3 separate regions of the Homo sapiens genome follow, and regions 1 and 2 are each linked to region 3. Evidence: promoter capture Hi-C in 16 types of primary human blood cells and fetal thymus (Javierre and others, 2016). All regions are on one chromosome and are shown on one strand. The core of a region is centred on a gene start or on the middle of the fragment in contact, and the rest is flanking DNA. Distances in the headings are between cores, read along the strand shown.

Region 1 (4,041 bases), core at 922-3,421, 200 kb before region 3:
CCAGTCCTCCCGGTTTTAAAGTTTTAACTCTGCTGCTGCTGCTGCAGCCTTTAGGAGTCCTGGTCACCAGGCAGGCAGGCAGGCAGCAGGAGGTCTTGGGCAAGGTGACTGGTTTGTTGCTATCTGCACTGAGTTGAGTAGGCTGGTCCCCGCTGCACTGGGATCAGAGATCAAAATACAGCACCAGCTGAACTGAGCTTTCTGAACCTGCTTCCCTGGACACCCAGAGGATCCCTCACCAGGTCCTTGACAGCCTGAAGGACACAGCTCTGCTTCCAGCCCCTTAGCAAGAGGCCCAAAGAGCTGAGTGCATGGAGGCTGTGGGCAGACCAGAGCACAAGAGATTGTTGCCTAGGCAGAGAGACACTGGGATTGGCTGACCGAGGCAGCACTTTTGGGGAATAGGTTGCCACGGAGAATCCACAGGTGTCAAAAAAAGTCATCACTGGCCCTATGTGAATACTTGGGTCTCTGCCCTGCCTGATGTGTCGTGATGAGGTTTTGTAGGAAATGCTGGCCAGCAGAGGTGTCCCTTTGCTGGGGCTGAGGCAGTTGCGGCCTCTCATGTAGTTATGAGGGAACCTGTTTTTTCACATGTGAGTTCCCCCAGCCCAAGAAAGCCTGTCATGCTCTGGGGTTGCCTTGTTTTTCTTAGGTGAATAAGCTTTAGGATTACCTTTCCTAAATTCATAGAACAGATAATCCTTTGTAGAAAAAGCAGGCTGGGTGTGGTGGCTCACATCTGTAATCCCAGCACTTTGGGAGGCTGAGGTCGGCGGATCACCTGAGGTCAGGAGTTCGAGACTAGCCTGGCCAACATAGTGAAACCCCATCTCTACTAAAAATACAAAAATCAGCCGGGCATGGTGGTGGGTGCTTGTAATCCCACCTACTTGGGAGGCTGAGGCAGGAGAATCGCTTGAACCAGGGAGGCGGAGGTTGCAGAGAGCCAAGATCGTGCCACTGCACTCCAGCCTGGGCAACAAGAGCGAAACTCTGTCTCAAAAAAAAAAATAAAAAGAAAAAAAGAGAAAACAAAAGTCTCTGAGATGGAACCTCACGATTACTGGCCTTTTTTTTTTTTTTTTGAGACAGAGTCTTGCTCTGTGGCCAGGCTGGAGTGCAGTGGCACGATCCCAGCTCACTACAACCTCCGCCTCCTGGGTTCAAGCGATTCCCCTGCCTCAGCCTCCCGGGTAGCTGGGACTACAGGCACGCGCCACCACGTCCAGCTAATTTTTTGTATTTTTTAGTAGAGACGGGGTTCACCATGTTGGCCAGGATGGTCTGGATCTCTTGATCTTGTGATCTGCCTACCTCAGCCTCCCAAAGTGCTGGGATTACAGGCGTGAGCCACTGCACCTTGCCCACGATTACTAGGCATTTCTAAGCTACTTGCCAGAGTGATCCAGGAGCCTGCCGTGGCCTTGTCTGGCCCCTCTGCCTGCCACATCACCAAGTGTATGCTTTAGATGGGGCTCAGCAGAACACAGTTCCTCATGCAGTTAGGACCAGCATGTGAAAAAAGCTTCCAGTCCCCAAAAGGAGTAGGGCCAGGGCCACAGCCCGGCTCTCGATCCCTTCACTAGGGGCAGCCCACTTCAAGTCCTCAAGACCTCCAAGTCTAGACCCCAGAAAGAGGAGTCTCAAGTTATTCCTTAGAAAGCCTCAGTGGACAAACAATATGCTATTTGGGAAAAAAATAGACCTGGCATTATTGTTTCTTCCCAGCTTTCCTGGGCATTCTGAGAGCTTTTGTTTCTCCTCAGAGGAGGGTTCTTTCAAAGTCACCTCCTCCGTGAAGCCTTTCCTGATTCCCCCGAACAAGGTATGGTCTCTCCTGGCACTTTGTTCCTCTGACACCAGTTATCATCACGGTGATAATAGTTATCTCTTGCTGAACATGTACGTATGTGCCAGTCATGCCATTCAGAGCATTCACTTATTATCTTATTTAATCCTCTCAACAACCCTAACTCATAGGTACTATAATTATCTCTGTTGGACAGGAGAGGAAATTGAGACCCAGAGACATGAAGTAACTTGCCCGAGTCACCAGGAAGAGGCAGCACCGGGCCTGAGGCTCATGCTGCTGACTTCATGTTAACCAACCACCATCCTGCCTCTTCCCGCCCTGGTCTATCTCCCCGAGCCTTCACCTCCTCCTGCAACTGCAGATAGAAGCTGCTTCTTCCTTTGTTTGTCATTCTCAACTTATCTTTTTTGTCCATCTTTATAAAGTTCTATGTTAAGAACCGTTGCCCAGTATTGGTGTAAATTTATAAATTATCTGGGCTGGATGGGTCATGGCTGCCAACTTCAGCGATGAGTTGGACCCAGAGTTGGCAAAAGGACGAAGCCACCTGGGGGCTGATGGTGGCTTTGTGGCTCCGCTTGTTTCTGGCGCGGTTGGCCCCACGCTCAGCTCAGCTTTCCTTTCCACTGCTCTGCTGCAGGGCTATGAGCATCCCCAGGGCAAGAGCTCTGTCCTGCTTTGTCCACCCCCTCTTCCTGCCACCAGTGCTTGCACCTAGTAGTCAGGCCATGGCTGTCATCTGCTTGGCAGCCTGTGCGCCAGAACAAGGTGCTGCCTGGACCCCACACCCTCCCAGGAAGAGACACGGTCCCCTTTATCTCACATCTCACTCTTCTCGCTTTAGCCCTTCCTGGCCCCTAGGGCTGAGCTCTGGTGGGGTGGAGGGCACCTCCTCAGAAGGGGACAACTTCCCAGGCCCAGGCAGACTGCTCGCCCTGGGCAGGAGGGCCAGCCTTGGCTTCAGCAAGTTCAGAACTCATTCTGCCCTCAGAAGCTTCCATTTGCAATGCTCCTCCCCAACCTGCTGGCTAGTCCACCTCTTTCTACCAAGGAGGCTCCCAGAAATAAGCTCTCTCCTTGAGGCCCGGTAGGTGCAGGCGGCCAGATGCCTCCTGATGAGCTTTACTGGTGTCCTTCCTGCTGCTCAGGTCTCAGGCACTGCTTCCGCAGCCTGGGCCTTCCTGCTCAGGGCGACGAGCGCATCTTACGGGAAGGACTTTCTGCTTCAGTCCACAGGACAGCCTCCCATGAGTCCTTCCTGCCTTCTGCACCCAGGACACTGTGTGCGGTGGGCATCTCTGGGCCATTTGGGTGAGGAATTCAATCTTTCAGTGTCTTAGCCTCTTCCCTGCCCAGTCACCTACGCAGAGGGCCTCTCCCACAGAAGCGGGCTGGCATAAGAAGGCCAGCTGTCTGGAGTCCTCCCTGAGCCCTCAGGACCCCAGGCAGCCTTTTCCTTTCCTGCTCAGCCTGCCCTGGCCCCTACTCTCTGCTCCCTCCTGGCCCAACCTGCTGCCCGCTGCTGGCCTGCTGTCTACCTAGTGCTCGACAGCCTCCGCCCCTCTGACCCCAACTGGGCAGCAGCCCCTGCTCAGCTCTGCATGCATGGAAGACTCCTAGGCACAGAGTCACCTTTTGTGAGGCAGCATGAGATACCCCCACAGCTGGGTCATTCTCCTCATCCAGGAGCCAGGTGTGGGAATTCACTGGCATGAGAGACACTTATGGGTTCCTCCTGACTCTGAGCACATGTGCTCCTCCAGGGCAGGGGACTTTTTGGTCATCCTTAGGAGTTGTGCACAGAGCGGGCTTTCCTTGGCTGGAGACCCCACCCACTGCACCCTCCCTGTGTCTGGCAAGTCCGGGAGGGCCCAGAGCACTCACAAAGCATCAGTTTGTCCTCGGGGCACTGGAGAGGCCGTGCAGTCCCCACACTCCCCCTCTCAGGTGCACAGAGCTTCCATCCAAATCAGCTGCTCCCAGAAGGGCTTGCCTCTGGTGCCGACCCTTCCCTGACCAGGCGCTCTGTCACTAGGGCTCCCAGGTGCCACCTCCAAGCCTGGGCCAGGACAACCGCCAGGGAAGCCTGCCTGCAGAGGGGACTCCTTGCTTGCCCCAAAGGCCTCAACCCCAGCTAGATGAGCTCCCGTGGGGCTGAGTCCCAGGCCCACCAGGCCTGGGGGCCACACGGCTCCTAAGCTCATCCTCTCCTCCTGCAGCCCAGT
Region 2 (3,998 bases), core at 1,340-3,839, 220 kb before region 3:
CTGCGCTTCAGGCTGCTCTCCCGGGTCTTAGGGCTAGGGCTGCCTTCCCCACCTGGCCTGCCTGTGGCTGAGCCCACCAGGCAGGACTGTGGCCGGGCCTCCTCAGAGCCATGCTTGGCAGCCTTCATTCCATGCCTATTGGTGCCCGTGGGGGGCGAGGCTCCTGGTGGGGAGCTCTGCAGGCAGGCACCCAGCTGCAGACAGCGCTGCGAGGCACCCTGAAACTCGGCGGGGCCCAGGGACTGTGCCTTTGCAGCCAGCCCATTGGGCAGGACCCGTGGGCTCTGTGGCTCGGGCCACGGCATCTGCTTGTGGCCTGCTGGTGTGCCCCCGTTGCAGCTGAGGTAGAGGCCGTGGGGGTCAGTGCGCTCAGACTGGGGGCTCTGGAGGTACATGTCTGGGTCGGTGGCCCAGTGCTCATCCCCCAGCAGCCCCAGGGACTGTGCCCGCCGCCGGCTGGTGGGGCTGCGGCCACGCAGGGTGTTGGAGCTGATGACTGACAACTTCTGGATGTCGTTGAGCAGCCCCGAGATGTAGCCATCCACAGGCATCGCGCTGCCCCGCACCACTGTCTGTAGGGGGAAGAGAAAAGAGTGTGTGGGAGCTGCCCAATTGTGGCAGGGAGGGGTGGCTGGGAGATCAGGGTCAGAGAATGTCCCTGGGGGCCCTGGGGAGGACCACCTAAGGACCTTCCCTGCTGTGTCATCCACCCATTAATTTTTCCATAATTTATCAGGGCCCACCGTGGGTCCCGCCTGTGCTGGATGCAGGGATGCGGGGAGAAGGCCCAGCGTCAGCAGAGCAGATGGTGAGTGCCATGGGGCTGCATCCAGCATGCCCAGGGGTGTGGTCGGCTGGGCCAGGGAGCTGGAGCTCAGGGGGCGGGGCTCCATTCTCTAGCTCCACGGGTGGCTGGGAGAGATGTGCCCAGCCCTCTGAGGAAGAGACACCAGGCCGGGGGCTCCTCCACACACACTGGCTTCGCAGCCTCCAAACCCTGATAGGGCCCCTGACCCCACCTTCTACCAGGCTCTTGGGTCTACTAGTCGTGACCCTCACAACTAAAATTCTCCTGGTCTGGGAGAGCCCTCAGTCCCTATGGGGCTGCAGGTCCAAATATTGAATGGGACACGTCCTAAAAGACTATTCGTTGTCATCTGAAATACAAATGCAATTGAGCATCTCACATTTTCATGTGCTGAATCTGGCAACCCCACCACCCTGCAGAGAGGGTCTCCCCAGCCTCCTTCGCCCTGGCTTACCCAGGGAGAGAATGGCAGGCTGACAGGCAGGGAGTTAAAACAGCTGATTAACTGATAGCTGTGAAGTAGGTGGTTCCTCCAGGGGCCTTTCTGAGGTTTAGCCAGGCATGGTTGTCTGAGTACTGGGAGAGGCTGAACCTCATCCCTGCCGGCCCCTCTTACCTTCATGGGCTGGAGCTGCACCCGTGTGATTCGCGAAGGGTCCACCACGGGCTTGGGGCGCCGCAGTGTGTCCAGGATGTTCTGCCATTGTGGGGGGAGGCCCACAAACTTGCCTTCTTTGGGGTCGAAGGAGGTGTGGACACGGTGCTGGAAGTTCTGTGGCGCTGAGATCTCAGGGCGTTTCTTCTTTTTCTTGCGGAACATGGTGCCTGTAAGTGCAGAGTAAGGTTGAGCTCCCTCCCGGGAAAGAGGGGTGGCTGCAGCAGGGCCTGGGGCACCAGGTTCAGGGCTCCCTCCCCTCCCCCAGCACAGCTCCCCTAGAAGCCTAGGGCTTCCCTCCACCTCCATCTCTGCTTCCTCAGGGAAATGGCTGGCTCCCAGCAGAACAGTCCCAGAAACAACAAACGTGCCATAAATAAGCCAGTGCAGACTATAAACAAGGAAAAGAGGTGTCTTCTTGCCTGTGCCAAGTCCCCTATGGAGCAGGCAGACTCTGGGGGTGTGTTTTTATAAAATCCAAAGCCCATTACAAGTATCATTCCACTGTCTGTCAACGAATTTTAAAAATGGGGAAAGAGGGAGGAAAGTTAGCAAGCTTGTTTTATGAAACGAGTATGACCTTGATTCTTAAAACCAGATAAGGAGAGTGCAAGAAAAGGAAAATTTGACTCAATATCATTTAGGAACGTAACTATGAAAATCTTAAAACTATCGAATTGAATCCAACAGTATATTAAAGTTATTTTTTTGTTGGCTTTTTTTTTTTATTACAACTCAGCTTTGTCCCAGGATGGTTGAACCTGTTAATATGATACGTTAATAAAAAGCCAACCAGCTGATCACAGACATGCTGCCCGGTGTGGGACTATTATGTATCAGGGAGCCCCCAAAGGGCCTTCATGGTTACCATGTGCTTTACCTCAATTCCAGAAAGGCCCTGAGCCAAGAGGATAGCCTGGGGTGGGTGAGGGGCAGCTAACTTAGGGGTAAAGCTCTCCAGAGAAGGCAGAGAGCACCACCTCCCCTTGACACTCTTCTCTCTGGTATTGGAGCTCTATGTAAAACATCACCTGGGCCGGGCATGGTGGTTCATGCCTGTAATCCTAGTACTCTGGGAGGCCGAGGCGGGTGGATCACCTGAGGTCAGGAGTTTGAGACCAGCTTGGCCAACATGGTGAAAACCTGTCTTGACTAAAAATACAAAGAAATTAGCCGGGCCTGGTGGCACGTGCCTGTAGTCCCGGATACCCATGGGGTTGAGGGAGGAGAATCGCTTGAACCCAGGAGGCTGAGGCTGCAGTGAGCTGAGATTGCCCCACTGCACTCCAGCCTGGGCAACAGAATGAGACTCTGTCTCAAAAAACAAACAATAAAACACTTAACCTGCAATCAAGCCTGTGTCCCGTGCCTTGCTGATTCTGGCTTTGCCTAAGGTCGTGCTGAGCTGCATACACAGAAGTGACACAGGCTTGCAATGGATAGCATGGGTAGATCTGAGAGTGGGGAACTGGGGGCCTGGGAAGGGGAGGGACACTTCCAAAGGGTTGCTCTAGTTTCGCCTTCAGGGGATCCCGGACCTGGGATCACATGTTGATGGCAGACAGGGCCAGGGCTGCCTCTTGAATGCTTTTGGATCTGAAGAGGCTCAGAACAGCTCACTGGGTTCTTATGTATCTGAAAAGGTCACTTCCAGGCTTCAAGAAACTGAAACATGATTCTTGAACTGAAAGCTTGGATTACTCATCCGCCCGAAGATCTGGAGTGCAGGGCCGTCATGTTCTCTTTTGGCTCTTGCTATGGAAACAGCATTTTCCTAGTCATTTTGGCAGGTTCTGAAGGAGGTCGCAGATCTGGGAGGCAGCTGGCAGAAAGGCAGGGACCCTGGACAGCCAGTGGTTCCCCACTAGGAATTCACCATGCGTGACTCAATCAGAGCCCACGTCACATCTCAATGTCAGCCATGCTTCTGGGTCTTGAGGTTCGGGATCCACCGAACACCCCCTAGAGGTAGAGCCACATGTACAGGACCCTTACAGACCAAGCCCTTTGGAATAAAACAACCTGTGTGAGTTGCAGATGAGTTGTAGGGAGTCTCCCACTAATAATTTGGAGAGATTTTGAACAAATAACTGAAATGATCTGAGCCAGGGGGGTTAATGAAAGACAGCTCATAGGGTTTAGGGTGTGTGAAGTAAGCAGAGTCCCCATACATGACGGTTGTTTCTCTTGTGATGTCACCTCTCTTTGAATCCCTGTCTTGAAGCTCAGGCCCTCCAGACACTGGCACTTGGGCAGATACAAGTCTGGGAGTAACACCAAACCACTTTCTGCTCAGACTTACCAGTCAAAGGGGTCATGCCTGATGTCAGGGGTCTGGGACCTGGGGACCTCGCCATATATACATCATGGTTTGGTAAAATTTGTCCTCCTCCTTTTGGCCTTTGCCTTTTTTGTTGTTGTTTGTTGTTGTTGTTGTTGTTTTTGAGAAGGAGTCTTGCCGCCCTGTCGCCCAGACTGGAGTGTAGTGGCACCATCTGGGCTCACTGCAACCTCCACCTCCCGGGTTCAAGTGAT
Region 3 (3,858 bases), core at 1,359-3,858:
GCAGCGGCTCATGCCTATAGACCCAAGTACTTAGGAGGCTGAGGCTGGAGGATAGCTTGAGCCTGAGAGGTGGACGCTGCAGTGAGCCGAGATTGCACCACTGCACTCTAGCCTGGGTGACAGAGTGAGACCCTGCCTCAAAAAGAAAAAGGAATCTGGGATGATTCATGGTTGTTTTTATTTGAGTAACTGGTCAGACGGTGGTGCCATTTAATAAATAGCAAAGATGTGGGAAGTAAAAAGTTTTGATTTGGTCACGTAATATCTGAGATGCTCATTACACATCCAGGTGGAACTACCAAGTGGACAGCTGAATATGCAAGTTTGGAGCTCAATACAGAGGTAAAAGCTATAATTAAAAATTGGGGAGTCATCTTCGCACACCTCAAGACTAGCAAAGATTAGAACAGTCTGGTGAAAACCCCTCCTATAGGGCCGCCAACACAAGACCACTTTGTGATGGCACCATATGAATAACCTCTAGCATGCGTGTCCAACCTTTTGGCTTCCCTGGGCCACATTGAAAGAATCGTCCTGGGCCATATGTAAAACACACTAACACTAATGATAGCTGATGAGATAAAATTTTTTTAAAAAGGGCCCATGCATAATTTTCATGATATCTGCCAATACAGATGAGCAAAAACATCCTCACATTCAAATGACTGGACACCCATGCAAGAGCCCTGGGCCTTGGTATTACTAGCTCAGAAGTCAAAGTCCTGGTTGAGAGCACCAGATTGACCCACGTTAGGTCATATGCTTGAGCCCAGGTGCTGAGGGCAGTTGAGAGAGTGACCCTCTGACCCTTCTATTTATTTATTTATTGCCTCTCACCAAAACCCACACAACAGGGGATTGCAAACAGGTTCAAATGCTGGAGAACCAAAAGCCAATACAGGTTGGCTACACAAGGTCATCAGCCTAGGGCAGGAAGTGGGCAACGGGCGCTGGCCATTTGGAAGAAAATGTGAAATCAGAGAGTGAACATATTTAAGCCATTAAGTTTGAATCTCCTAACTGGGCTCCTCATTTCCTGCCCTGTCTCTCTACAGTGCATTCTCCACAACACAGACAGGGGGATCTTTAAAAAATATAAATCAGATTTTCAGTGTTCTGTTGAAAACTTCCTTAACGAGTCTTCTCTTTGTATCTAGAACAAAATCCAGGCTTACTATGGTCACGGGCCCTACATAATCTGGTCCCCAGCTACCTCTCCATACTCCTTTACTCCTTGCTCCACAAGCCCTCCTCACCCCCACCCGCACCTGCCAGTCTTACAGACACAGGGCAACTTGTTTCCCCTTTGAAGGTTTTGCTCTAGCCGTTCCCTGTGTCTGAAACACTGTGTCCCTAGATCTTTGGATGGCTGGTCCTTTCAGCTTTCAACTCAAAGTTCTCCTTTTCGACGAGAACTCCCCTGACCCCAACCCAGGCAGTCCCCTTCCCACTCTCATTATACAGCCCTGCTTAGGCTGTCTCACGGAATTCATTATCTGAAGCTGTACTACTTACTTGTTTGCTTCATTGTTTATTTCCTCCCTGCCCCTTTAACCCAACTTCCAGGAAACCAGGAACTTAGCTTTTCTTATCCTGCTGCATCCCCAACCTCTACAACCGTGCCTGGCACAGACTGAGAGGCACTCAGCGAAAACCTCTTGTGTGGTGGAATGCTTGACTTTATAGAGGGCCCAGGGTTCAAGTTGGCTAGTGGCAGAGAGGGCTTACAACCTAGTTCTCCTGACTAATCAGAGGTAGAACTAAAGACTGGGCTCCAGCCCCTCATTTTTTTTTTTTTTTTTTTTTTTTTTGAGACGGAGTCTCGCTCTGTCTTCCAGGCTGGAGTGCAGTGGCGCGATCTCAGCTCACTGCAAGCTCTGCCTCCTGGGTTCACGCCATTCTCCTGCCTCAGCCTCCCGAGTAGCTAGGATTACAGGTGCCCGCCACCACGCCCGGCTAACTTTTTTGTATTTTTAGTAGAGACAGCGTTTCACCGTGTTAGCCAGGATGGTCTCAATCTCCTGACCTCGTGATCCACCCGCCTCGGCCTCCCAAAGTGCCGGGATTACAGGCGTGAGCCACCACGCCCGGCCCAGCCCTTCTGGCTAGAGCTGCAGGTCAGCGTTTAGGGAGAGTTTAAAGGATCTCTACAGGAACTTATAATGACAATAATGAAAAGAACAATAGCTGATACCTACTGAACACGCTCTATGTGCCAGGCACTGTTCTACGTATTTAATCTGAGTTTCATTTACGCTTCACGACCACACTGCGCGGTAGATACTATCATTACCCTTACTTTATGGATAAGGAAACTGAGTCACTGAGTTGTTAGGTTACCTGCCCAGCATACAGCTGAATATAAATCGTACGCTGCTATCAAAACTTTCTTTTGCTCTCACTCCGTCACACTGGCTGGGGTGAGACGATTTCTCGCATGTGACGACCCAGGACAGCCCCAGCGCCTCCGGGTCACAGGCCCCCGGACGTCCCAGGGCGCGGGCGCTAGGCGGGCGGGGAGGGGGGAGGGCGCAGGCCGGGATTGGTGGAAGAGAAGAGATTGGTGGAAGACAATGGAAGTCTAGTAGCGGAAGTCCCGCCCAGCCTAGGCCGAACTTCCGGCTCTCACTGCTAGGGGCTTAAGCGGAGGGAGTCGAGCCAGCGTCGCCGCGATGGTGTTGTTGGAGAGCGAGCAGGTATGGCTAGGCCTGGCCGGCCGAGGGAAGGGGGCGGCTCAGGCGTTACTCGAGACCTGTGCCTCCTGCAGGAGGACCAGGGCCTTGACGCGGCAGGACGAGGATTTGGGGCTGGCTAACGGGGCTGGGCCTGTTGTTTTCCAGTTCCTGACGGAGCTGACCAGACTTTTCCAGAAGTGCCGGACGTCGGGCAGCGTCTATATCACCTTGAAGAAGTGTAAGCAGCGGGAGGGGAGCCGGGCGATGCTCCCTGGGTTCCCGGTGTCTGGGAGCCACCGGAGTCTGTCTGCCGCGGACCGCCGCCTTCCTCTACCTTTCCCCACCCTGTACTGAGCACATTCGGGGCTTCGGGCCCGGAAAATAGTAGGGATTGTAGCTGGCTCAGTCCCCAGCACTGAGCCGCCTAGGTTGCTTCTGGTAACAATGGGCCCCAAGCAGCCCAGGGCTCTTTGTCAGGGATCCCAGACGCCGCCACTTTGAGTGGAATTTAACGTGCTTCGATATTACATGTTTCCGTCGTGGAAATAATAGTTTCTCCAGGGTTTCGCCAGACCGTGATAGCAGATGAGGTGTTTAACAAAACTAGAGCAGCGGGGCTGGGTTAGGTCATCACTTACCCCACTCCTCTGTTTTAACTGTTTGTCTGCCGCTCAGCCACGTACGCGGCCGTGTTCACCAGGATGCATTTTTTCCTTCAGATGACGGTCGAACCAAACCCATTCCAAAGAAGGGTACTGTGGAGGGCTTTGAGCCCGCAGACAACAAGTGTCTGTTAAGAGCTACCGATGGGAAGAAGAAGATCAGCACTGTGGTGAGCTTAATTTCTAAGGCTGTCTTTTGAAATGTAAAGACTTGAACTTAACAGAGGATGGGGCGTTTCTGAACCAGGCTTTTATTTGTTTTTCCCTTTTGCCCTGTGTGGCTATTTTTGAGACCAGGACCTTCCTATACTTTAGTAGTGGAAACCTCAAGAATAAAATAAGAAGGTAGAGGTCAGACAGTCGTTAGTTCTGCTAAAGCTCTTGTGGAAATGAAAGTAGCATATTGGTCCTTATTCGTAGTACTGTAAGGAGCAGCTGGCATAAATATTTGATTCCTTAGCCCCTTACTGTGCTGGGCCTTCAATAAGCAGTTTCTTGGTACCAGGTGATGCTATTATTTC

Evidence for each region. The method cuts DNA at HindIII sites, captures the fragments that hold promoters and counts their contacts. A CHiCAGO score of 5 or more calls a contact.
Region 1: a fragment that was not itself captured here is called in contact with the fragment with the promoter of SRP14 in region 3 in 5 of 17 cell types (total B cells, naive B cells, megakaryocytes and 2 more); the score reaches 9.4 in total B cells.
Region 2: a fragment that was not itself captured here is called in contact with the fragment with the promoter of SRP14 in region 3 in 15 of 17 cell types (naive B cells, total B cells, naive CD4 T cells and 12 more); the score reaches 22.5 in naive B cells.

The regions. Positions count from the first base shown.
Region 1 is chr15:40,241,377-40,245,417 of GRCh38, reverse strand. The region is part of intron 1 of BUB1B-PAK6 (BUB1B-PAK6 readthrough); the gene reads right to left. All of the region lies in intron 2 of PAK6 (p21 (RAC1) activated kinase 6), which reads right to left. Among named protein-coding and RNA genes, the nearest start is that of PAK6, 4.3 kb to the right of the region's middle. RefSeq lists enhancers at 1-270, 2,595-3,094. The HindIII fragment of the contact is 1,282 bases long and covers 1,531-2,812 here.
Region 2 is chr15:40,262,416-40,266,413 of GRCh38, reverse strand. BUB1B-PAK6 (BUB1B-PAK6 readthrough) reads right to left here. Exons shown (of 10, transcript NM_001128629.3): 3 at 1,425-1,633; 4 at 1-572. The coding sequence starts at 1,628. PAK6 (p21 (RAC1) activated kinase 6) reads right to left here. Exons shown (of 11, transcript NM_001395430.1): 4 at 1,425-1,633; 5 at 1-572. The coding sequence starts at 1,628. Among named protein-coding and RNA genes, the nearest start is that of PAK6-AS1, 11 kb to the right of the region's middle. The HindIII fragment of the contact is 1,135 bases long and covers 2,022-3,156 here.
Region 3 is chr15:40,037,931-40,041,788 of GRCh38, reverse strand. It overlaps SRP14 (signal recognition particle 14), which reads left to right and starts at 2,608. Exons shown (of 5, transcript NM_003134.6): 1 at 2,608-2,696; 2 at 2,841-2,913; 3 at 3,395-3,507. The coding sequence starts at 2,673. SRP14-DT (SRP14 divergent transcript) reads right to left here and starts at 2,478. Exons shown (of 3, transcript NR_040060.1): 1 at 2,341-2,478. LOC124903471 (a long non-coding RNA gene) reads right to left here. Exons shown (of 2, transcript XR_007064596.1): 2 at 3,380-3,858. RefSeq lists a silencer at 2,405-2,614 and enhancers at 1,700-2,644, 2,695-2,874, 2,895-2,944, 2,645-3,590. The HindIII fragment of the contact is 8,433 bases long and covers 1-3,858 here.